6 separate regions of the Homo sapiens genome follow, and all the other regions are linked to region 2. The links are contacts of gene promoters, found by promoter capture Hi-C in blood cells and fetal thymus (Javierre and others, 2016). All regions are on one chromosome and are shown on one strand. The core of a region is centred on a gene start or on the middle of the fragment in contact, and the rest is flanking DNA. Distances in the headings are between cores, read along the strand shown. Region 1 has its middle 38 kb from the start of NOTCH2NLC. Region 2 holds the start of H2BC21 (H2B clustered histone 21). Region 3 holds the start of ADAMTSL4-AS1 (ADAMTSL4 antisense RNA 1). Region 4 overlaps LOC124904581. Region 5 holds the start of ENSA (endosulfine alpha). Region 6 holds the start of TARS2 (threonyl-tRNA synthetase 2, mitochondrial).

Region 1 (3,638 bases), core at 600-3,099, 530 kb after region 2:
CTTGTAGTCCCAGATTTAAAAGTTTTTCAGAGAGGAATGCTTTGATGAAAATGGCATTTTATAAAGATTGATCTGGCAGCAGTAAAGTCTCCCAAAGAGGCTACTCAAAAAACCACTGCAATACATTGTTGAGTTTTCTCTCATTCATTTCCCTTAATTTATACAAGTTATATAATTTAATTAATTTTGTGAATATCTTAGAAATAATCATTGCTTCTAATATGGATGAGTCCTTTACACTGTTCCAACTCAACAAAAACTAATCATGCTAGGAAAAAAAATATATTGGAAGCATTGTAATGTAATGTACTTCTGGGAGATAAATTCTTAACAGTTCTAGGTAGAATCTAATAGCATAAAAGGCACTGCAAAATAAGCTATCCTTGTCTATGGAATGAGAACCATTTCTTCATAAGACTCATTGCTTTTAGATACCTGAGAGTGCTTCTCCTCGTTGTAACACTTCTTCGATATTGGCCACCATGATCCTCTGCACATCTTGCAATTCAGTGTTGATGGAGCCTAGGTTTCTTCGAGCACAACTGTCAATGTAGAGCTTCTTGGTTTTCTGAATGAAAGTATCTAGAATGATGAAGAAAACTGACCATTTCTTTCATGGCCATCAAAGTACTGAGGTAGGAAATTAAAAGTTCTGAGTTGGCCAGGCACGGTGGCTCACACCTGTAATCCCAGCACTTTGGGAGGCCAAGGCAGGTGAATCATGAGGTCAGGAAATCGAGACCATCCTGGCTAACACAGTGAAACCCCGTCTCTACTAAAAATATAAAAAGTTAGCCAGGCGTGGCGGCACACGCCTATAATCCCAGCTACTCAGGAGGCTGAGCCAGGAGAATCACTTGAACTTGGGAGGCAGAGGTTGCACTGAGCTGAGATCACACCACCACACTTTAGCCTGGGTGACAGAGCAAGACTCTGTCTCAAAAACAAAAACAAAAAAACCAAAACAGTTCTGTCTTTATTCCTGGATTTGCCACTGTCCATGGTTAACCAAACTCTTGGTTGAATATCAAAATCTAGGCTTTGATTATTTCATTTGTAAGATGTAAAGGTATAATTAGACGACCATTCAGGAGAAATGTCCTTTGAATACCTTTAAATTAGAAGTATTTGCTATCTAAGGCTGCTATCAGAATCCTTAGAGAAATTAAGACCCACTATAGTAAGCCTTTCCTGAAAACAGAAATTTTCAAACAGTATTCTGAGGACCCTTAGGCTAAGTGTTACTTACCTCTACACATTCCTTAAAAGGATGCTGGTAACACTCTAGCATTATTACAGCCTAACATGGCAAAAGGGCTCATGATCATTAAAAAGCTGAGAAACTTTACCTTATTTTCTCTAATATACATTCCCAGTTTCATTCCATTCTTAAACCTCAGGTAAAGCAAGTATGTAATAGGGAGTTTTCCAAAATACCAATATAAAACTGAACTGAAGTCTCGGCCAGGTACTGTGTCTCACACGTATAAATCCCAGCATTTTGGGAGGCCAAGATGGGTGGATCACTTGAGGCCAGGAATTCGAGACCAGCCTGGCCAACAAGGCAAAACTCCCATCTCTACCAAAATTACCGAAATTAGCTAGCTGGTCATGGCAGCGTGCACCTCTAGTCCCAGCTATTCAGGAGGCTGAGGCACAAGAATCACTTGAACCTAGGAGGCAGAGGTTGCAGTTAGCCAAAATCATGCCACTGCACCCCAGCCTGGGCAATAGAGCGAGACTCTGTCTCTAAGTAAATAAATAAATAAATAAATAAAAACTGAAGTCTCATCCATCTTTTGCTCATATCAGTATTTCTCAAAACTATAGGAAGAACGACTTATTATTAAAGATATTTTCAACATTTGGCAAAAATCTTAATTTAAGTGTGCTGTACCCCTTTCATTTGCCTCTTTAGATCTCCTCTCTGCCCTCCTGCACCTTGCTTTCTGCACTGGGAAGCTGACTTGGATGAAGCGCCTCAATAGACTCCTTGCTCTGTGCCAGTTAGGTTCAGGCAATGAAGAAGCCCCAACAGTAGGGAAGAAGGAGAACAGACAGTGAGTGATGTCCGGGTATTTATTCCCCTGGCTTCTTTCAGAGAAGGAAATAACCTTCTTCTGGAAGTATCCCTCTACCAAAAGTTACGCTCCTCTCAAGTTGGCCTTCTCTAGAAATTTTCTCCTTTTCAGTTTCAGAAACTGCTCCTCCCCCTTATACATTCAGGCCTAGGGATGGTAACAACCAGTATGCTACTGGTCAGAGGTTACTGTACCTTGTAATTCTCCTACAGCCTAGTCATATCTTTGTATATAATCCCTTAAGCTAATTTGGGTGTGCCATCTGTTTCCTGTATGACCCTGATACATTTGTCTTCTTTTTGAGGGAGGTTTATGGGAGTATTACTGTCTATAAAAATAAAATTTGAAAAACTGGACATTATATAAAGCAGCACTTGGAGAGTATATAGTTATGAAACACTAGAGTGTTTTTCCAAAGCAAGATGACCCATTTATCTAGCAAACTTGAAACACTTCAAAAATTCTAAGCCAGTAAAACCAATTTCTCTTTTAACTAAAAATTGCAGCGATATAGCCTGATCCTACTTGTTCTCACTCCCTGTACTTACTGTACTTAGGACATTTCCTTTGATCCCTTACCATCAGATACTTTACCAGGTCTGATTAGTAATTGGTCTTTCTATAATTCTTGTACAAATACAGACACCTATGCTCACCATTCCTGAATGTAGTAAATATTATACCCCAATACCATGAGTACCAGGTATCTTCTATTTCTTTGTTCTGTTTTGTTTTTTTAATTAGAGGATCTTATTCTACTAAAAGAAACAAAACATCATTCTTTCTGATTTCCCAATTCTGATCTCCATAAAATGAGCCTTATTGTGAGTGTGAGTCTGTGGACTGGGGTAAAGAAGAACTCAGCCATTATATGCCAATCAAGTAGATCTTTAGCAAAGTTCCTGTCACATGTGACTCTAAAGAAGAATCAAACCAAATAACAGAAAGGGCAAAAGGCAACAATTTCTATGGAGGAAAGATCAAAAGACTAGAGAAAATTACTTTTCAGAACAAAGCCTTAGTCACTCAAAAAGACAAAAAGAAGTGGAATGGAAAAGGAAGCAGAAGCTAAAACTTCAGCAAGTAAACATCAGAAAAAATGTATAAATATTATATCAGTGTAACAAATAGCTTCTCCATATTGTTTGCTCCCTTGATAGAGAGAAGTGAGGGGCAAAAACTTACCAAATTCAATAAAGGAATAGGGTCGGGACACAGTGGGCACCTTCTTTCCATGCTGTTCATCAAATTCTGAGTGCAAATCTTCTAGGTAGGCAAAAGCCAACGTCTTAGGGAAGGCAGCTTCACATAAAACCAAATCACACACCCCCTGCTCAATAATGTAGCTGGTGAGACATAAAAAGCAAGACAAAGTTGTCTGTAAAGTAATAGCACTGACAACAGTTTAAAGCAGAATCTCTGTACCATGCAAACTTTTTTAAAAATCTAGCCTAAATACTTTGAGGCTGGCTAAACGAGAGTCAATTTAAAACCGCAAATCCTTGGAATCAGAAAGCAAACATCTTCCCATTATTAGATGTATATTCTTTTTTTTTT
Region 2 (3,858 bases), core at 1,013-3,512:
GAGGGCAAAGAGGGGAGGTTGTTTGTATGAGTTCGCGTTCGGATAGGCTGAGGTAGAGTTTGAGTTTGAGGTGCTCGTTGGGATAAGTAGGTTGAAGTATTCTGTAAGCAGTTAGGCATAAGGGTCTGAGCTTCTGAAACAAATTTGGACGTTAGTTGAAAGCATATAAATGGGTAAGACTCTTCGGGATAAGTGAAGAATTGGAGACAGGGAAACAGTCCAGCTGGACTCGCAGATTTAGAGATGGGCAGTGGCATGGGGGAGCAGGATAAGAAAAGTCGGCGAGGTAAGAAGAAAAACAGGGCGACATTTTGAAAGCCAAGGGAGCAAGTTTGAAGGCCGCCTCCTGGAGGTCAAGAGGAGGATGACAAATCTATTCTAGCCTCGGTCAAACCGGATTCCGAGGAGTGCAGGCGGGTGGGGGTGGGGCGGAGACACGCCGCTGCGGGCGACTTAAGTTTAGGGGCGAGAAAGGAGGCAGCCTTAGTAGTACATGTATTTTTAAAGGGAATTTGGCTGTGACGAGACAGAAAGGGCGGGACTTGGCAGTTTAGAGCTCAAGGGGATCATCGGCTTCAGAATCCCCTACTCTTTCGTGAGAGTAACTCTCCGTCTAAGGATGTCTTCTGCAGTTCCTTAGGGTCCATATTGGGATTTCCCGGCTGTAAACTAAACAAAGCAAAGCAAAACAAAACAAAAACCCACAGTGCCTCTCAGTAAAACAAAACCAGTATTTTGTTTGAAAGCCTGCTCTCTTTAAAGATCCTGGCATGCAAATAAGGGGCTTTAATGTGGCTCTCAGCGATTGGTAGATACTTACAAAATCCGTCATTTCCTTTCAGTGCAGGACGCAAACCAAGAGGCGGCTTTCTGCTTTTCTATTGGCTGTTAGATACGGCTCCGCTTTTAGCCAATCAAACGACTTCCCTTCACCCCTCCCGGTAGCTCTTATAAATTACATCAAATTGGTTATTCTTTCCACATTCTTCTCCTTGTAAAAGAAGCTGTAACTGCAATTTTAGCCGTAATGTCAGGACGCGGAAAGCAGGGAGGCAAGGCCCGCGCTAAGGCCAAGTCGCGCTCGTCCCGCGCTGGTCTCCAGTTCCCGGTGGGGCGAGTGCACCGCTTGCTGCGCAAAGGCAACTACGCGGAGCGGGTCGGGGCAGGCGCCCCGGTGTACCTGGCGGCGGTCCTCGAGTACCTGACCGCGGAAATTCTGGAGCTGGCGGGCAACGCGGCTCGGGACAACAAGAAGACGCGCATCATCCCTCGCCATCTGCAACTAGCCGTGAGGAATGACGAAGAGCTCAACAAGTTACTCGGGGGTGTCACCATTGCCCAGGGCGGCGTCTTGCCCAATATCCAGGCTGTCCTGTTGCCCAAGAAAACGGAGAGTCACAAGCCTGGCAAGAACAAGTAATTAAGAGGCTTGACACCATACTCATTCACCCCAAAGGCTCTTTTAAGAGCCACCAAAGTGTCAAATGAAGGGCTGATCACGAAATAGCGCATTAGCTCTTTTTTTGAAAACTTGGGTGGCTCTAAAAAGAGCCTTTGGTCTTGGTTTGTTTGTCTGCATTTATTTGCTTTTGGCTTTGTGGCTTTCGGTTTTCTTTGGTAACAGAACGGCCTGGATGTTAGGCAAAACGCCGCCCTGGGCGATGGTGACTTTGCCCAGCAGCTTGTTCAGTTCCTCGTCGTTGCGGATGGCCAGCTGGAGGTGACGAGGGATGATGCGCGTCTTCTTGTTGTCCCGAGCCGCGTTGCCCGCCAGCTCCAGGATCTCGGCGGTCAGGTACTCGAGGACCGCCGCCATGTAGACGGGCGCGCCGGCCCCCACCCGCTCCGCGTAGTTGCCTTTGCGCAGCAAGCGGTGCACTCGCCCTACCGGGAACTGGAGGCCAGCGCGGGACGAGCGCGACTTGGCCTTGGCGCGGGCCTTGCCTCCTTGTTTGCCACGACCAGACATGACTGAAATCAAGGTTAAACACAGACAACGCTCAGAACCTCGCAACAAAATAAGATTGAAAGAGAACCAAGAGGAAAGCCTTTATAAGCTTTCCTAGGGGTGGGGTCAAGAACGAGTTTTTCATTGGTCCTAATATGGCTTCAGAACCGGCCAATCAAGTCAAGAGTCGGTGTTGTTACGTACGCATTGCTGAAAACGCAAGGTCCGCACACGGACCAATGGAAATGAACGACTTTCGGAGCCCTAATTTGCATAAGGTGGTTATAAAAGAATCAGGCCCGCCCATTCTCTTACTTCTTTTCTTGGCTAAGCCGCGTTTGTACTGTGTCTTACCATGCCTGAACCGGCAAAATCCGCTCCGGCCCCTAAAAAGGGCTCCAAGAAAGCCGTCACCAAAGCCCAGAAGAAAGACGGCAAGAAGCGCAAGCGCAGCCGCAAAGAGAGCTACTCCATCTACGTGTACAAGGTGCTGAAGCAGGTCCACCCCGACACCGGCATCTCGTCCAAGGCCATGGGCATCATGAACTCCTTCGTCAACGACATCTTCGAGCGCATCGCGGGAGAGGCTTCCCGCCTGGCGCACTACAACAAGCGCTCCACCATCACATCCCGCGAGATCCAGACGGCCGTGCGCCTGCTGCTGCCCGGCGAGCTGGCCAAGCACGCCGTGTCCGAGGGCACCAAGGCGGTCACCAAGTACACCAGCTCCAAGTGAGTCCCTGCCGGGACCTGGCGCTCGCTCGCTCGAGTCGCCGGCTGCTTGACTCCAAAGGCTCTTTTCAGAGCCACCCACCTAATCACTAGAAAAGAGCTTGTTCACTTATTCCCTTAGTTTCTTTTCATAAAGTAAGTTATTTTAGTGTGAAGGTCATGGGAAATGGCATACGTAGCTTTTTAACTATTTGGAACTCGAGGTCCCCAGTGCGTCATTGGATTTGCTTTTGAATCTAGAGCGTGTCTTTACTCATTGTGCTGCTTAGCCTTCCCAGGAGTCGGTTCTCAATTAGGCTGTTGGGAATCCGCCTCTTTACCCGCCCCCACTCCCGCCCCACACGCGCCCTGGTGGCTCCTTGGGTCTGTTTCATTCTAAAACGAAGTGGCTGAGTTCGGCTGTCATTTAAGAGAACTCCAGGACACAATTCAGCCCGGGTTCCGCAAACACTGCGTGACAGCTCTGTATGACTGACGCTTGGCAGCAGCTTTTGTGTCCGGTCACCAGTTCTGCCGTGCGATGGGGCCTCCTGTGGATACCAGCCGTTCTGTGTATTTTGGACGAAGGCCGCGCAGCCGGGTCCCAGCCTTGTCCTGATTGGGCGACAAGAATATTCAAAATTCTGCGCCTTTTTCTAATTTGTAGATTTCAGTTTCCGTCGTTCACTTTGAGACTTTGAAATTCCTATTTCTCATTTTGTTGATAATTTCTGCATTTAATGGTCTGTGCTTTAAATGGTAACGCTACGGCCCCAGGTCACTGCGAGGCACTTACCATGTAGATACGGGCTCAAAAGTCACCTCTCAGAGACCTACGTCATCCACTCAGGAATTCGCGCCTCTCATACTTGCCTGTCTCATTTTATCTTCCTTCTAGCAGCTGTCTGAAATTGGTTCGTCTGTTTTCTTGTTTATGGTATTCTCAAGCCCTTGACAGACCGGCTAGTGTGGTTTTCCCGTGCATCTTCAGCCTGGCACATTATGGACACTTAAATACTACGTATTGATCTAATATTGTTGGGTTAATTTTTCCATCCCACCCTTTTCTTAATCGCTTCCGTGGATGGATGAAGGGTGCTGTTCATTTCCATTAGATGTATGTGAAGGCACAGTGAAAATGGAAATGTTCTTGGAGCTACTTCCTCAAAATGTATCCTTAGTCACCTCAGTGCAACAGC
Region 3 (3,922 bases), core at 692-3,191, 690 kb before region 2:
AATGGAACTCATTAGCTGTGTGCATATAAAAAGATCACATCAGGTGGATGGAGAGACATTTGATCCCTTGTTTGCTTAATAAATTATAAAATGATGGCTTGGAAAAGCAGGCTAGTCTAACCATGGTGCTATTATTAGGCTTGCTTGTTACACACACAGGTCTAAGCCTAGTATGTCAATAAAGCAAATACTTACTGTTTTGTTTCTATTAATGATTCCCAAACCTTGTTGCAAGTTTTTGCATTGGCATCTTTGGATTTCAGTCTTGATGTTTGTTCTATCAGACTTAACCTTTTATTTCCTGTCCTTCCTTGAAATTGCTGATTGTTCTGCTCCCTCTACAGATATTTATATCAATTCCTACAGCTTTCCCCTGCCATCCCTGAACTCTTTCTAGCCCTTTTAGATTTTGGCACTGTGAAACCCCTGCTGGAAACCTGAGTGACCCTCCCTCCCCACCAAGAGTCCACAGACCTTTCATCTTTCACGAACTTGATCCTGTTAGCAGGTGGTAATACCATGGGTGCTGTGACACTAACAGTCATTGAGAGGTGGGAGGAAGTCCCTTTTCCTTGGACTGGTATCTTTTCAACTATTGTTTTATCCTGTCTTTGGGGGCAATGTGTCAAAAGTCCCCTCAGGAATTTTCAGAGGAAAGAACATTTTATGAGGCTTTCTCTAAAGTTTCCTTTGTATAGGAGTATGCTCACTTAAATTTACAGAAAGAGGTGAGCTGTGTTAAACCTCAGAGTTTAAAAGCTACTGATAAACTGAAGAAAGTGTCTATATTGGAACTAGGGTCATTTGAAAGCTTCAGTCTCGGAACATGACCTTTAGTCTGTGGACTCCATTTAAAAATAGGTATGAATAAGATGACTAAGAATGTAATGGGGAAGAACTGCCCTGCCTGCCCATCTCAGAGCCATAAGGTCATCTTTGCTAGAGCTATTTTTACCTATGTATTTATCGTTCTTGATCATAAGCCGCTTATTTATATCATGTATCTCTAAGGACCTAAAAGCACTTTATGTAGTTTTTAATTAATCTTAAGATCTGGTTACGGTAACTAAAAAAGCCTGTCTGCCAAATCCAGTGGAAACAAGTGCATAGATGTGAATTGGTTTTTAGGGGCCCCACTTCCCAATTCATTAGGTATGACTGTGGAAATACAGACAAGGATCTTAGTTGATATTTTGGGCTTGGGGCAGTGAGGGCTTAGGACACCCCAAGTGGTTTGGGAAAGGAGGAGGGGAGTGGTGGGTTTATAGGGGGAGGAGGAGGCAGGTGGTCTAAGTGCTGACTGGCTACGTAGTTCGGGCAAATCCTCCAAAAGGGAAAGGGAGGATTTGCTTAGAAGGATGGCGCTCCCAGTGACTACTTTTTGACTTCTGTTTGTCTTACGCTTCTCTCAGGGAAAAACATGCAGTCCTCTAGTGTTTCATGTACATTCTGTGGGGGGTGAACACCTTGGTTCTGGTTAAACAGCTGTACTTTTGATAGCTGTGCCAGGAAGGGTTAGGACCAACTACAAATTAATGTTGGTTGTCAAATGTAGTGTGTTTCCCTAACTTTCTGTTTTTCCTGAGAAAAAAAAATAAATCTTTTATTCAAATACAGGGTGTGATATGGGTCTTTTCTCATCGACGCCTCTTTTTCCTTCCCTCTCTTAGGCAAACCTTTTAGAGAAGTCAGCTGAGCAAATATGTACAGGTGAATTCAAAGCAAAAGCCTCACAAAGTTGATTTGCCTTAGAGCAAAGGACAGTTCCTTTCTTCAATTCTAATTAGAGGTGTTGGGTTTTTAATTAAATATATTACTGCTGTACTTAGAGGAGTTCTTAAACCTCCAAGTAAAATCAAAAACCTCTTTAAAATCAAAATTTCTGTCTTGATTTATTTATTTATTATTTTTTTTTTGAGATGGAGTTTTGCTCTTGTTGTCCAGGCTGGAGTGCAATGGCACGATCTCCGCTCACCGCAACCTCCGCCTCCCAGGTTCAAATGATTCTCCTGCCTCAGCCTCCTGAGTAGCTGGGAATACAGGCATGCGCCACCACACCCAGATAATTTTGTATTTTTAGTAGAGATGGGGTTTCTCCGTGTTGGTCAGGCTGGTCTTGAACTCCCGACCTCAGGTGATCTGCCCACCTCTGCCTCCCAGAGTGCCAGGATTACAGGCGTGAGCCATCGCACCCAGCCTCTGTCTTGATTTTTTTGAATCACCAGGTGTTGGTATGTTTTGTTTTGTTTTGTTTTGAGGCACAGTCTCACTCTTTTGCCCAGGCTAGAGTGCAGTGGGGCAATCTCGGCTCACTGCAACCTCAGCCTCCCGAGTAGCTGGGATTACAGGTGCCCGCCACCATGCCCGGCTAATTTTTCTATTTTTGGTAGAGACGGGGTTTTGCCGTGTTGGTCAGGCTGGTCTTGAAGTCCTGACCTCAGTGATCCACTCGCCTCAGCCGAAGTGCTGCGATTACAGACCTGAGCCACTGCGCCCAGCCTTGATCTTGAGGTAAGAGGGTACTGTACAGCAGTTACTCTATCATAACACCTAAATAATACCTAAAGTTAAAGAGTTTTGATGAAGTTCTTGGCAGCAGTGCTTTTCCCCTTCTGCTTTCCAAAAGGAGGTAAAAAGAAGCCAGTCAATTTCAAAAACCCCTATCCTGCTTTTATTTTCAGCTACCTTGAAAGTGAGCTGAATCACCATGGAAATGTGCAAATGTGAGGTTTGCATACTTGGTTTTAAGCCCTGAGCACCATATGCTAATCAGGCAATCAGGATTCTGTGCCTCCCTGCAGTCAGTTGCATTTCTATTTAAAAGTGCATTTTGGTTTGGAAGCCCCTTTCTGGAGCCTAACTACCAAAAGGCAGCAACTTTTTGTATCATTACAAAGAAAGCTGTGTAAGTGCACTCCCAAGCAAAGGTGTGGTAGGAGAGTAGCAGCCACAGAGGACCCAAGCCCAAGTCTTGGCCTGAGTTAAGTTAGTGCTATTGCTCCCATTGACGTGCTATGATGTGAAGCCGTTTCTGGTACAGTGTTCCTTTGCTCAGCACCTTAAAAGCTTGGATTTAATAGTAACTGGGTAACCTTAATCAGTAGTCAGAATTATCAACACTTTGCTTTATTTGACACAACCAGACTTTCTCAGTTCCTGTTCTGTATCTAGAGCAACGTCTTCATACTGTTTTTTCACAAAATTTTTATTTAAAACAGTTGTGACAGCCGAAGGATTTTTTTTTTTTTTTTTACAAAATTAAAATGAAATAACTTGTACAACTGGTGCGTACCATGGCTCCAGCCAGATGCCCAAAGCACTGGCTATTAATTCCTGGAGTTCAGATGGTCAGTTGAGTCTATCCTAGTTTTTTGCTTCACTTGTTCAATCATGGAACTTTCTAGAACGCTGCCACTCTTCAAAGGCTTCTCAATTTCAAATTTGAAAACTTAATTCTCTCCCTCTTAGTTTCAAAGTTGTTACAGTGTTATCTATGTGAAGTATGTGGAAAGTTGGGGGCTGGGGATTTTCCTCCAGGCAGATTAAGAAACAGCTCTCCGGGTCGGGCGCTGTGGCTCAGGCCTGTAATCCCAGCACTTTGGGAGGCTGAGGCAGGAGAATCGCTCGAACCCGGGAGGCGGAGGTTGCAGTGAGCTGAGATCATGCCATTGCACTCCGGGGCCTGGGCGACAGAGCCAGACGCTGTCTCAAAAAAAAAAAAAAAAAAAAGGCACGGTGACTCACACCTGTAATCCCAGCACTTTGGGAGGCCAAGGTGGAGGGATCATGAGGTCAGGAGTTTGAGGCCAGTCTGGCCAATACAGTGAAACCCCATCTCTACTAAAAATAAAAAAAATTAACTGGGCATGGTGGCGGGCGCCTGTAATCCCAGCTACTTGGGAGGCTGAGGCAGGAGAACCAC
Region 4 (3,774 bases), core at 313-2,812, 720 kb after region 2:
TAAAAAATAAAAAATAAAAACCTGCTTGTGACAAAGACCAAAGGGAGCTCAGATCCAAGCTTCCTTGGTGTGAGTCTTCCAGGCAGTTGTCTTCATGTTGACTCAAGTAAACTCTAAATTATATTTTGTGCTTCAGCCTCCTTCTTTTAGGTCAACATGTTCAACAACAGTAGAATAAATACATAAGTTAATGTATATTCCTACAAAGGAATACACGTAGAACCAAATAACCATATGAATAACATGAAAAATTCATAGACATAGGACTGAGTGAAAGAAGTCAGACCTATGCCTCTGCTTCTGCAACCGCCTTTGCAAAAATTACAACTGGGACAATTACCACAGTGAAAGAGATCTGATCTAACTGATTCCATCTTGCTTCTAACGTACAAGCTGTCCTTGTTGATTGCTGGGCACAGGCCGAAATAACTTTGGGAGGAAATTAGTTTATGGTTTAGCTGTGAAACAAAGATGATAATATCCCTGTCCGGAAGCAAACCCCCTTCCTGCCTGGGGACTAGACTGCCTTTGCCGGACTAACAAATTAGCCACGAGATTAGAAATTATGGTTTAGGAGTCATGTAGCCTCTGGCTGCAAGATTCTAAACCTCCCCAAATTGTTCCTGGAGATCACATCGTTATTGGAAAACCTAAGATCAGTGCTTGAGATATTTTGCCGACCCTGCACTCAGTGGATCAGCTGGCACCAGCTAGACTGATAACCTGGCTCAGCTGGTCTTGTGGCCCCCAAGCAGGAACTGACCCAGCACAAGACCACAGCTTCAGCTCCCTGTGATTTCATCTCCGACCTGGCCAAGCAGAACTCTCAATTCACCGGCCCCCAATCACCAAATAAAGAGTGCAGCTCTTTATTGCAATTCCCCTGTGTCGAAAAATTGGCTCTGTCTAGGCAGCAGGCAGGGTGTACCTGTTGGGCAGTAACACTCCCCCCAAAACCCACTACAGACTGTGACTCAGCTTATATGAAAGTAAAGGGCAGGAAAAACTTGCCTGATAGATTTGCAGAGACGGGGGTGGAAACCATTAATAAGTCTGTGGAGTATTCTCAGAGTTTGGTGTTGTAGTCTACATATTAAAAGTAATCAGTTAAACACCTGAAATAAAACTTCTCCCAAATATTTTTGCCAAATTTGGATGACTGTGTTTCTGTCTTCGCAGCATATAAAGTGTTAACATGAGGTAAGCGCTAAGGTCTAGAGAAGGCAGTGAAGAGATGACAAACTCCAGCACCATGCCTGAGTGTCCAGTGTGCTCTGCTGGGGCAGCACATTTTTGTACATTGCTGTATCTGAAAAAAACCCTACAAGATTCATGAAACTGGACGACCGTCTTTATAATACTCCTAGTGATAAAACAAGTAAGGATGGCTGGTTTGCAGTCATCTGAGCAGCCTCTCTAGTTTCATAGATACGGTTTCTCTCTGATATTGAACGACTTCCAAATGTCAAGCGAAATGCTACATCACAAGGATAACCGTATGTGAAAACCGTTTTTCTTTGTAATCCTAAACTTTCTAGTCTGAGCTTTAAAAGCCATTATTTGAAGAAAAGCGCACAGGCTCCAGCTGGCCGCCAAAGGGGTCCTTTGCATCACAGGCTAAGAACCTACTTCTTTGGGAGAGACCAGGGACGGGGATGGGAGGGAAAGGAGGTAGAGTCAGGTGTCACTTCCTCCGCCCGCTCCCGCAGCTGGTTGGTCGGCCGAGTGGCAGAGGGTGGGGCGGAAGAGCAGACGGGGACGGGAAAGGCGCTGTCGGTGACATCACAGATAGGGCGATTCCTATGCAGAGGAGGCAGCTCAGGGGCTGCTGCTTCGCCACGAAAGATTTCTCGTGCTGTGGGAGCTAGTCCAGGACCTCCGGTTGGACGTGATAGTCCCAGCTGTGTGTCAGGGCTAGGAGGACTTGAGGCGGCATGGGGGCGGGGTGGGGGAATGCGCGGGGCAAGTGACCGTGCGTGTAAGGGGTGAGGCGTATGGAGCTGTGGCAGGGCGGAGGTGCGTTCATTCGTACTTACGTAACAGGAGAAAATACGGCCATGAAGTTGATGTTTCTCGGGGGCGATTTCTCCATTGTACTCAGTATGTGCTGACTGACTCCTGTTACTTCCACATGTGGGGAAACTGGACTGTAATTTGTGGTGGTGGGGAATTGCGTTCGCGCTTTCTTCTGGAGGTTGTAGTGCAAAAAGCAGTTTGTCTACCAAGTGATACTTTCAGCTTTTACAAATGCTGAACAATATCCGTGGTGTGTTTTCATGTCACCTCCTCTCCCTTCTTTGTTAGAAAAAAATGGAAGAGCACGTGGATGTTTTGAGATGAGAAGAGGTGCGTTCACCACCTTCACCTCCGTGTAGGCTTGTTATTAAGGGAAAGGGAACAAAGGAGTCTCACTTATGTAAGATGACCTTACATGAGAAGAAGAAATTCGAGCTGGTGAAAAGAAAGAAATTCAATTTCAGCCGGGCGCGGTGGTTGACACCTGTAATTCCAGCACTTTGGGAGGCCGAGGCAGGCGGATCACGAGGTCAGGAGATCAAGACCATCGTGGCTAACACGGTGAAACCCCGTCTCTACTAAAAAATACAAAAAAATTAGTTAGGTGTCGTGGCGGGTGCCTGTAGTCCCAGTTACTCCGGAAGCTGAGGCAGGAGAATGGCGTGAACCTTGGAGGCGGAGGTTGCAGTGAGCCGAGATCACACCACTGCACTCTAGCCTGGGGGACAGAGCGAGACTCCGTCTCAAAAAAAAAAAAAAAAAAAAAAAGAATTCAATTTCAACAGTCTAATATCCTGGCATGCAAGAGAGAAATTCTAAGACTGTCTCAACTGTAGAAATGTTCAGGGAGAAAAAAAAATAGATGATTATTTATTCTGGTTCATTCATTGTCTCGTTGAGTTTGTCAGATGCCAGGTGAGGTGCCTTACATGTGTTCATAACCTCAAGACATAAAAGGGAAGGAATTTTAGAATGATTCAATGATATCACTGTTTTGCCTAATAAGCAAATAATTCAGTAAGAGACACTTATTAACAAATCTAAGAATAAAGCTTCCTTTTTAATCACAAAATTGCCTTTCTTCACATTATCTTTCTTTACATTCTTTGACAAAGTACCCCAACCCATCAATATTGTCTGTCTTATCCAAACTGAAGGATGATAATCCAGATTTAAGAAAATATCTATCAAAATAATGACAACATTGAGCATGTACTCAGTATCTGCTGGGTATAGGGCACAACAAATATCTCTCGAGTTAGTACCAGGCCCTGTGCTGAGGCCTCCACTCCTCTCTAGCTCATGTGCACTGAGCAGCGAGTGCCACTGGCTCCTTGAAAGCTGCTCAGGCACCACCGTTTTTAATTCCCATGAGAGGTGCTGTGTGCACCCCAGTGGACAGATGAGGGAATGGAGAGCAGGTGGATACCCTTGGGTAGAGAGCCACACATGGTTGGATCCAGCTCTAGAAGGACTGACCCCTTCTCTACCCGACTCGAGAAAGCCCACTGTCAATGATCTCGACCTCTACTTTATGTCTCCTATTTCTGGAACGGAAATGACCTCGTGCATATTTCAAATTCTCCAGCTTTTCCTTGTCTTTCCTCCATCTTGTCAGTACTCAAATAGGAAAATGATATATACATATATGTTGATCATGTACACTTAATTTCCTAGATGTAATTAAGTATAAATTTCAGGCAAAATGCTAACTTGAATATATTTTTATGTTAAAACTTTTCCATATTTCATTCACTT
Region 5 (3,569 bases), core at 1,042-3,541, 740 kb before region 2:
CCCACACTTACATTTCCTAGAACCCTTAAATTTCAGATATGGAGATCTTAGAGGTCATTTATCCTAAGTCTTCATTGCCTGGATGTCTCCACCAAATGGTTCATTCGCTTTTAATAAAGTCCATGTTTTCAGGCCGGGCACGGTGGTTCACGCCCGTAATCCCAGCATTTGGGAGGCCGAGGCAGGCAGGTCACCTGAGTTCAGGAGTTTGAGACCAGCCTGGCCAACATGGCGAAACCCTGTCTCTACTAAAAATACAAAAATCAGCCGGGCATGGTGGCGCACACCTGTAGTCGGGAGGCTGAGGCAGGAGAATCACTTTAACCCGCGAGGCAGAGGTTGTAGGGAACTGAGATTGTGCTACTGCACTACAGCCTGGGTGACAGAGCGAGACTCCGTCTCAAAAAAAAAAAAAAAAAAAAAAAAAAGTCCATGTTTTCAAAACTGAATGCCTTATTTTCTCTCTGCTTTTCAGCTCCATTCCCAAATTGACTCCTCTTCTTGAATTTATTGTTTCTATAAATAATCACCTTGAGGCACACAGTCTTCTCATTCTCTATTCAGTCAGCTGCTAGTCTAGTGGATTCCATTGTCACAGACTCTCTTGGTTAGGTTCACTATTTTCTATTCTTAACTACTACGTTTCTAGGTTAAATCCTAATTATCTCCCACCTAACGTTTGCAGAGGACTCGGCTAGACTGTTCATCTCTGGTAGTTTTCTGCTTGGAATTCTGAGTCTTTTTATTCATTACCACCAAATTATCTCCATAAAGAGCACTTCTTATCTGCCACTCTTTTTTTTTTTTTTTTTTTGAGACGGACTCTCACTGTCACCCAGGCTGGAGTTCAGTGGCGAGATGCGATCTCGGTTCACTGCAACCTCCGCCTCCCAGGTAAAAGCGATTCTCCTGCCTCAGGCTCCTGAGTAGCTGGGACTACAGGTGCACGCCACCACGCCTGGCTAATTTTTGTATTTTTAGTAGAGACGGGGTTTCTCCATGTTGACCAGGATGGTTTCTATCGCCTGACATCATGATCCACCCTCATCGGCCTCCCAAGGTGCTGGGATTACATGCGTGGGCCACCGTGCCCAGCCTTGTTTTGTATTTCTAGTAGAGACAGGGTTTCACCATGTTGGCCAGGCTGGTTTCGAACTCCTGACCTCAAGTGATTCGCCCGCCTACGCCTCCCAGAGTGCTGGCATTACAGGCGTGAGTCACCGCGCCCAGCCAGGCCTGTAAGCTTTCTAAGGGCAGAGACTGCCTTACTATACACGTACCCCCCCCAACTAACACAGTACCATCCACATACAGACAGACGCCCAGGAAATGTTAAACTGTAATTCTGGATAGGTTAACTAGTATTAACCGTATTTACCAAATGTTTACCACATACTTACACTGTCCTCCTTGTTTCAAGGAGCGTAGTCCCCAAGGGATCACCCTGATGGAATATAAAAACTACACATAAGAGTGAAACTACGGAACGTAAGCCATTAGTGTTTTGCAAGACAGCTCGGGTTGAGACTCAGTCTCTCTCTTCCACAGGCCAAGTGACACATCGTAATACCATTGGTACCGTTTTATTTTATTTTTCGCGACAAAGTCTCGTCCTGTCACCCAGGCTGGAGTGCAGTGGCGCGATTTCGGCTCACTGCAACCTCCGCCTGCAGGGTTCAAGCGATTCTCCTGCCTCAGCCTCCCAAGTAATTGGGATTACAAACGCCCGCCACCACGCCCGGCTAATATTTGTATTTTTAGTAGAGACGGGGTTTCACCATGTTGGTCAGGCTGGTCTCGAACTCCTAACCTCAGGTGATCCGCCCACCTCGGCCTCCCAAAGTGCTAGGATTACAGGCGTGAGGCACCGCGCCCGGCCTGTTAGTACTACTTTAAAATCGAATCTGACCTCCAAATCATTTTCTGGAGCTCGATCATTTTCTGCTAACACCGCAAAGCTTAATCCTCTCCACCTGAGAATAAAAGGTTCCATCCTTCCGCTCTCCAGTTTGACGCCCTGCTAAGTCTCTCGGACGCGGTGGGCTGGAGTGAAGGAAGCCGGAGCCCACCAAAGCTGCAAAAGTACCACAGCCAGCAGCCCCGCCCCCGATATCCCCCACAGGCTTCCAATTGGTCCTTGTGGCTCACTCTCTTTCCAGGTTGGTGTTCCAGCTTGCCGGTCGCCTCTATAGAGCCCACCTTTAGACGGCGACTATTGGTAGATCGTTACGTCATTGCCCTATCTACCTCACTCCCACTGGCTCTCATAGGAAGGGGCGGTCGCAACGTCACGGGCAAGGGCCGCCATTTTGACTGAGCAACCCTAGTGACAGGAGCCGAAGCAGCAGCGCAGGTTGTCCCCGTTTCCCCTCCCCCTTCCCTTCTCCGGTTGCCTTCCCGGGCCCCTTACACTCCACAGTCCCGGTCCCGCCATGTCCCAGAAACAAGAAGAAGAGAACCCTGCGGAGGAGACCGGCGAGGAGAAGCAGGTGAAGTGGAAGGGGTGCGGGCGGGCGAGCTGGGGAGACCGTGATGGGGCGGGAGACGGTCTCCCACCAGTGCGGATTGGTCGCCATGGTCTCAGGCTCCGCAGGGGTTGGCCACTTTTTGCGTCACGCTGGGTGAGCTTCAACACGACATGCTGCTTTGGCGCTGGTTAGTTGGGTCGTTTGTCACTCAGTACTGTACTCTTCCTGATTGGCCAATAGGCCTACCGCTCAAACCTTGGACGCTGTGCTATAATTGGCCGAGCATGGACGTGGGGCGGGTGGTTGGAAAGACGGTGAATGGAAAGGGGATGGCTGGTGGTCTTGGGTGTGATGTGTGTTATTGGTTTGTAGAGGTAAGTGACCCAGCAACCGGGCTGGGGCCCGCAGCCTCAATCCGCAAAGATAGGGGTCGAGGTAAAGACGTTTAAAAAAAAACCAGTATTGGGGGAGGGGAGAAGTGTAGTTATTATAATGGCTAGTTTAAGGCGGCAACTTTCTCAAGAGACCTATTTTAGTAGCTAAGGATGGTCTATTGCTCACCTTCAGTGAGGACCCAGCAATATTGAAGAGGGCTAGAGTTCCAAACAGAATCATGGTAATTAAACTTGGAAAAGACGCCGACAGGGTCGTGAGAAAGACACTTCTCTCTTCCCCTAGACTTCCAAGGCAGGGACTTAGTGCACCTGCGATTCCGTGATGGAAACACTAACGCCAAATAAACCCCTTATTGGGGTTTGTATTTGACTTTTAAAATTTAGTACTGGGTTCAGGTACTCATTAAATACACTTGGTGTTATATCTATGCGTAATTTCCAAGAGAAAGGAATATAATTCCACTAAAAAGAGTCATACGTTGACTTCATATCTTTTCAAAAAGTCACTAAAGGGCAGCAGGGACCACAAAAAAAAAAAAAAGAGATTGACTACAGTAGTGAGAGTCCCTGCACCACCAGGGTAGGTATTGATTTTTTTGATGAAAACTGGTGGGTAAATACTAGTGAGCCTACTGTATCTTTGTTTTCCTGAGGTTAAAAACAGTATCATTTTCCTCTCTGTTTATCAGCTTGCTACCATAATATT
Region 6 (3,934 bases), core at 59-2,558, 600 kb before region 2:
GTTGGGTGAATACAGTTAATAATAATTTATTGTATATTTCAAAATAGCTAGAAGATTTGAAATAGTCCCAACACAAAGAAATGATAAATGTTTGGGGTAACAGATATCCTGAACACCCTGATTTGATCATTACATATTGTATGCATATATCAAAATATCACATATACCCATTCATATGTTCAATTATTATGTATCAATTATTAAAAAGTAAATTAATGATTTAAAACAGACAGGGTTACAATCCACAGTGGGGAGAAAGTTGCTCATCTCTCAGCAACTGTAAACTTGCAAAGGTGAAATGAGTTACCAGAGCAACAGAAGCTTTCATTTCTTTCCCCAATGAAAGGACAGAGACTCTGATGCAGAAACTAATACAGATAAAACAAATCTCAGGCCGGGTTTGGTGGCTCATGCCTGTAATCCCAGCACTTCGGGAGGCTGAGATGGAAGGATCGCTTGAGCCCAGGAGTTCAAGACTAGCCTGGGCAACATGGAGAGACCCCGTCTGTATAAAAGAACAACAACAAAAAACAAAAACAAAATCTTCAGGAAAGGCTATCTTAATGGGGACGGAACAGAAACAAGCAGACCAAGTTTTCTTCCCCTGCTCAAGTGAAGAGAAAGTAAAGGGGCAGAAGGATAATCCTGGTAGTTACAGGATGGGCCTGTTACCTGATCTGCCGGGCTAGTTGGTAGGGGGTTGTGTTCCATGCCACAGCATCAATTTTCTGGCCTCCAGGAAGTGATATCTTAATAGTCCGGGGTTCCTTCTGTGCCATGCTTGCTAATCTCTTTACCTGAGCAGCCCACAGCTCCTCAAAAAGGCCAAGCCGCTCTGCCAACCAGCGTGGAGGGGTCGACACAACTGCCTGGAGGGAAAGATATATTAGCAGGTAACACACGTCCCATCATTCTTTCTTAGAATTGCAGATGATGGCACTTTGGGATGGTTAAGTGGACTTCGTCCGAATTCCTACTTTTTAAGGGGATTGGGTGATACAAGACCCTAGGCTGGGGGTCCTTCGAGCTCAGAGTCCCCCAGACCGCTAACTCGAGAATTAGATAACGAGTTTAGATACGAGTCCTTTTCTGGGGACTCGGAGGACCAGGGAGAGGAGGAGTGGCGTGAGGCTGGGTTAACATAAAAATTTGGGGGCTTCGGCTGGGCTAAGTCTGATGCGGATCGGAGCTTTGGGGGTGCCTCACGCACCGTGTGTAGCCTGCAAGCCTGTAAACCTTGGAGCCGGAGACACCGCCACCTCTGATACAGGGCCATGTTCCTTCACACCAGTGCCTACATCCTCAAACAGATTATCGCCGCTTCTCCTCCACGTAATTCTTCATTGGCTTCTGGTCCAACAAAGTCCGTGTCTATTGGTTACTACAGCTGCCACTCTAGTCTGGCACCACCTCCAGGAACTCCGAAGAGGTACACCCTACACAGCACCAGCAGCGGTGTGAGTGGTTCCGGCTGACCGGAAGACCGAAAATGTAACACACCCTCGCTATTCCCCCAGACCCGTGGCGTTTCAGCTGAAACCCAAAAATAGCAATTAGGCGTCCTGTGGCTTTGAGGACAAGGGCAGGTGAACTTTTGAGGGCGAGAGTGGGAGAAAACCAGACAGGAAATGGTAGTAATTTCCCTTTAACTATACATTTTATTTTACGTGGTCCTTACAGCAAGTAGCAAAACTTAAGAGCATAGACTGGGGAACCAGACAGACCTAGTGTAAATTCTGGATCTGCCATTAACTATGTAATTTTGGGAAAATTATTAAACTTCTCATATTTATTTAATAGAGACCGGGGGGGGCGGGAGGGGGGGGCGGGTCTCACTATGTTGGCCAGGGTAGTCTCGAACTCCTGGCCTCAAGCAATCCCTCCCCTCCCCCCCACCAAACCGCCACCGCGCTCCGGCCTCCCAGAGTTCTGGAATTACAGGCATGAGCCGCCTTGCCTGACCTATTTAATTTCTCTAAGCCTCAATTTTCTCAACTATAAAATGAGAATAGTGTTGCTCCCAATTGTTGAGTTAAATTTTATGTAAATCGTCTAGTGTGGCCCATGGTTTTTTGGTAATGGGCAAAAGCAACAAGAAGCTATTATGATAAATGACTGTAACAGTTTTATTTTTTAATTTTGAGACAAGGTCTCACCGTTGCCCAGGCTGGAGTGCAGGGGTACAATCATGGCTCACTGCAGTCTCGACCTCCTGGGCTCAACTGACCACCTCAGCCTCTGGAGTAACCACTTTAAAGCTGGAGCAAAGATGGCCGCGCGCAGTGGCTCACGCTGTAATCCCAGCACTTTGGGAGGCCGAGGCAGGTGGATCACCTGAGGTCAGGAGTTCTAGACCAGCCTGGCCAACATGGTGAAACCCCGTCTCTACTAAAAATACAAAAATTAGCTGGGCGTGGTGGTGGGCGCCTGTAATCCCAGCTACTTGGGAGGCCGAGGCGGGTGGATCACCTGAGGTCAGGAGTTCTAGACCAGCCTGGCCAACATGGTGAAACCCCGTCTCTACTAAAAATACAAAAATTAGCTGGGCATGGTGGTGGGCGCCTGTAATCCCAGCTACTTGGGAGGCTGAGACAGGAGAATCGCTTGAACCCGGGAGGTGGAGGTTGCAGTGAGCCGAGATCACGCCATGCACTCCAGCCTGGGGGACAAGAGCGAGACTTCATCTCAAAACAAAACAAAAACAAAAAAGCTGGAATCAAGAATCTGCAGAGGTCAGTTTGAGTCCCTTTATACTCATGGTGCTTAATAGGGACTTTATAGACCTTTTAATCTTTTTTTTTTTTTTTTGAGATGGAGTTTCACTCTTGTTGCCCAGGCTGGAGTGCAGTGGCGTGATCTCGGCTTACCGCAACCTCCGCCTCCCCAGGTTCAAGCGCTTCTCCTGCCTCAGCCTCCCGAGTAGCTGGGATTACAGGCATGTGCCACCCCAGGCCCAGCTAATTTTGTATTTTTAGTAGAGACAGGGTTTCTCCATGTTGGTCAGGCTGGTCCCGAACTCCCAGCATCAGGTGATCCGCCTGCCTCAGCCTCCCAAAGTGCTGGGATTACAGGCGTGAGCCACCATGCCCGGCCGAGACCTTTTAATCTGACAGATGAGGAATTTAAGGTCAAACAGCAAGTGCTGATGGTGATTTCTGAATCCAAGCTTGGTTTTCTTTTACCACACCATGCTTTCTCTAGAAGAGTTTGCTCCCAGTATACTCCCCCATCACCTCAGAAAGAGGTGCCTGACTAGAATTTTAGCTCTCTGCTCCCTACATAAGCCCTTTGCCTCTAATTCCTATCCCAGCTCTCAACTTCCTTTATCCTTTCTCTTCCCTCTCCCTGATACATCTAGGACACAGGACTAGGTAAATTTCATCAAATTTACTCAGTAAATATGGGAACATGGTCAGATTTGTAGTAAAGTATGAAGGGAAACTGACTTGGGGGTAGCCATCAGGCTGTCAGTAATTCTCATTAGTCCCCTCACCTGGAGGTGGGGATGGTTAGAGTTGGTTCTGAAGTTTCAATGGTGATAGAATCAAGGGTTGTAGAGGAAGAGGTGTCAGAAAAAGCAGTTTAATCAAGGTTTCCGGAGAGACCAGGTTTCCCGGGCAGGGCAGTTGATCTGAGTCACAGGAGCCTCCATGGATCTTGGGTCCATCTTCTGGTAGACACCCTGAAATACAAAGAGAAAGAGACAAGAGTGTGGGAGAGGAAGATAACTTGTGTGTGTGTGGTTTGGAGAAGGTAGTTAAGAATTTTTAAATGGCATTCAGAAAGGGTGGCAACAGGCAGAATTCTTCTCATGCCTCTGCACCAAAAGGGGAAAGGTGTATTGCAGGCAACAAAATGGTAGGTGCCCAATAATTATTGAATCAAGTATGTACCAATCACGGTATTGATTTGATGCTCTCATTTACTAACTGCT

What was found. The method cuts DNA at HindIII sites, captures the fragments that hold promoters and counts their contacts. A CHiCAGO score of 5 or more calls a contact.
Region 1: a contact is called between a fragment that was not itself captured here and the fragment with the promoter of H2BC21 in region 2, in 4 of 17 cell types (M0 macrophages, monocytes, M2 macrophages and 1 more). The highest score is 11.1, in M0 macrophages.
Region 3: a fragment that was not itself captured here is called in contact with the fragment with the promoter of H2BC21 in region 2 in 1 of 17 cell types (non-activated CD4 T cells); the score reaches 5.5 in non-activated CD4 T cells.
Region 4: a contact is called between a fragment that was not itself captured here and the fragment with the promoter of H2BC21 in region 2, in 6 of 17 cell types (naive CD8 T cells, total CD4 T cells, activated CD4 T cells and 3 more). The highest score is 12.1, in naive CD8 T cells.
Region 5: a contact is called between the fragment with the promoter of ENSA here and the fragment with the promoter of H2BC21 in region 2, in 1 of 17 cell types (fetal thymus). The highest score is 6.9, in fetal thymus.
Region 6: the fragment with the promoter of TARS2 here is called in contact with the fragment with the promoter of H2BC21 in region 2 in 1 of 17 cell types (non-activated CD4 T cells); the score reaches 5.6 in non-activated CD4 T cells.

The regions. Positions count from the first base shown.
Region 1 is chr1:149,351,040-149,354,677 of GRCh38, reverse strand. It overlaps the pseudogene SEC22B2P. Among named protein-coding and RNA genes, the nearest start is that of NOTCH2NLC, 38 kb to the left of the region's middle. The HindIII fragment of the contact is 7,809 bases long and covers 1-3,638 here.
Region 2 is chr1:149,885,086-149,888,943 of GRCh38, reverse strand. H2BC21 (H2B clustered histone 21) reads left to right here and starts at 2,262. Exons shown (of 1, transcript NM_003528.3): 1 at 2,262-3,858. The coding sequence starts at 2,304. The coding sequence ends at 2,684. It overlaps H2AC20 (H2A clustered histone 20), which reads right to left and starts at 2,026. Exons shown (of 1, transcript NM_003517.3): 1 at 1,533-2,026. The coding sequence starts at 1,969. The coding sequence ends at 1,580. H2AC21 (H2A clustered histone 21) reads left to right here and starts at 979. Exons shown (of 1, transcript NM_175065.3): 1 at 979-1,475. The coding sequence starts at 1,028. The coding sequence ends at 1,420. RefSeq lists enhancers at 909-1,198, 1,219-1,358, 1,769-1,828, 1,959-2,028, 2,349-2,638 and 6 more. The HindIII fragment of the contact is 10,069 bases long and covers 2,060-3,858 here.
Region 3 is chr1:150,572,248-150,576,169 of GRCh38, reverse strand. MCL1 (MCL1 apoptosis regulator, BCL2 family member) reads left to right here. Exons shown (of 3, transcript NM_021960.5): 3 at 1-1,612. It overlaps ADAMTSL4-AS1 (ADAMTSL4 antisense RNA 1), which reads left to right and starts at 1,618. Exons shown (of 4, transcript NR_104133.1): 1 at 1,618-2,046; 2 at 2,349-2,511. The HindIII fragment of the contact is 2,255 bases long and covers 814-3,068 here.
Region 4 is chr1:149,161,199-149,164,972 of GRCh38, reverse strand. LOC124904581 reads right to left here. Exons shown (of 4, transcript XM_047439510.1): 3 at 1,630-2,231; 4 at 792-1,086. The coding sequence ends at 975. It also overlaps the pseudogene RNVU1-24. Among named protein-coding and RNA genes, the nearest start is that of NBPF9, 60 kb to the right of the region's middle. The HindIII fragment of the contact is 3,009 bases long and covers 58-3,066 here.
Region 5 is chr1:150,628,334-150,631,902 of GRCh38, reverse strand. ENSA (endosulfine alpha) reads left to right here and starts at 2,291. Exons shown (of 4, transcript NM_004436.4): 1 at 2,291-2,489. The coding sequence starts at 2,433. It overlaps LOC112268239 (a long non-coding RNA gene), which reads right to left and starts at 2,084. Exons shown (of 2, transcript XR_007066603.1): 1 at 1,401-2,084. RefSeq lists enhancers at 627-1,596, 1,597-2,564, 2,307-2,576. The HindIII fragment of the contact is 4,295 bases long and covers 1,961-3,569 here.
Region 6 is chr1:150,484,793-150,488,726 of GRCh38, reverse strand. TARS2 (threonyl-tRNA synthetase 2, mitochondrial) reads right to left here and starts at 1,308. Exons shown (of 18, transcript NM_025150.5): 1 at 1,211-1,308; 2 at 673-869. The coding sequence starts at 1,276. It overlaps LOC124904416 (a long non-coding RNA gene), which reads right to left. Exons shown (of 2, transcript XR_007066600.1): 2 at 3,373-3,682. RefSeq lists enhancers at 1,214-1,483, 977-1,483. The HindIII fragment of the contact is 2,845 bases long and covers 324-3,168 here.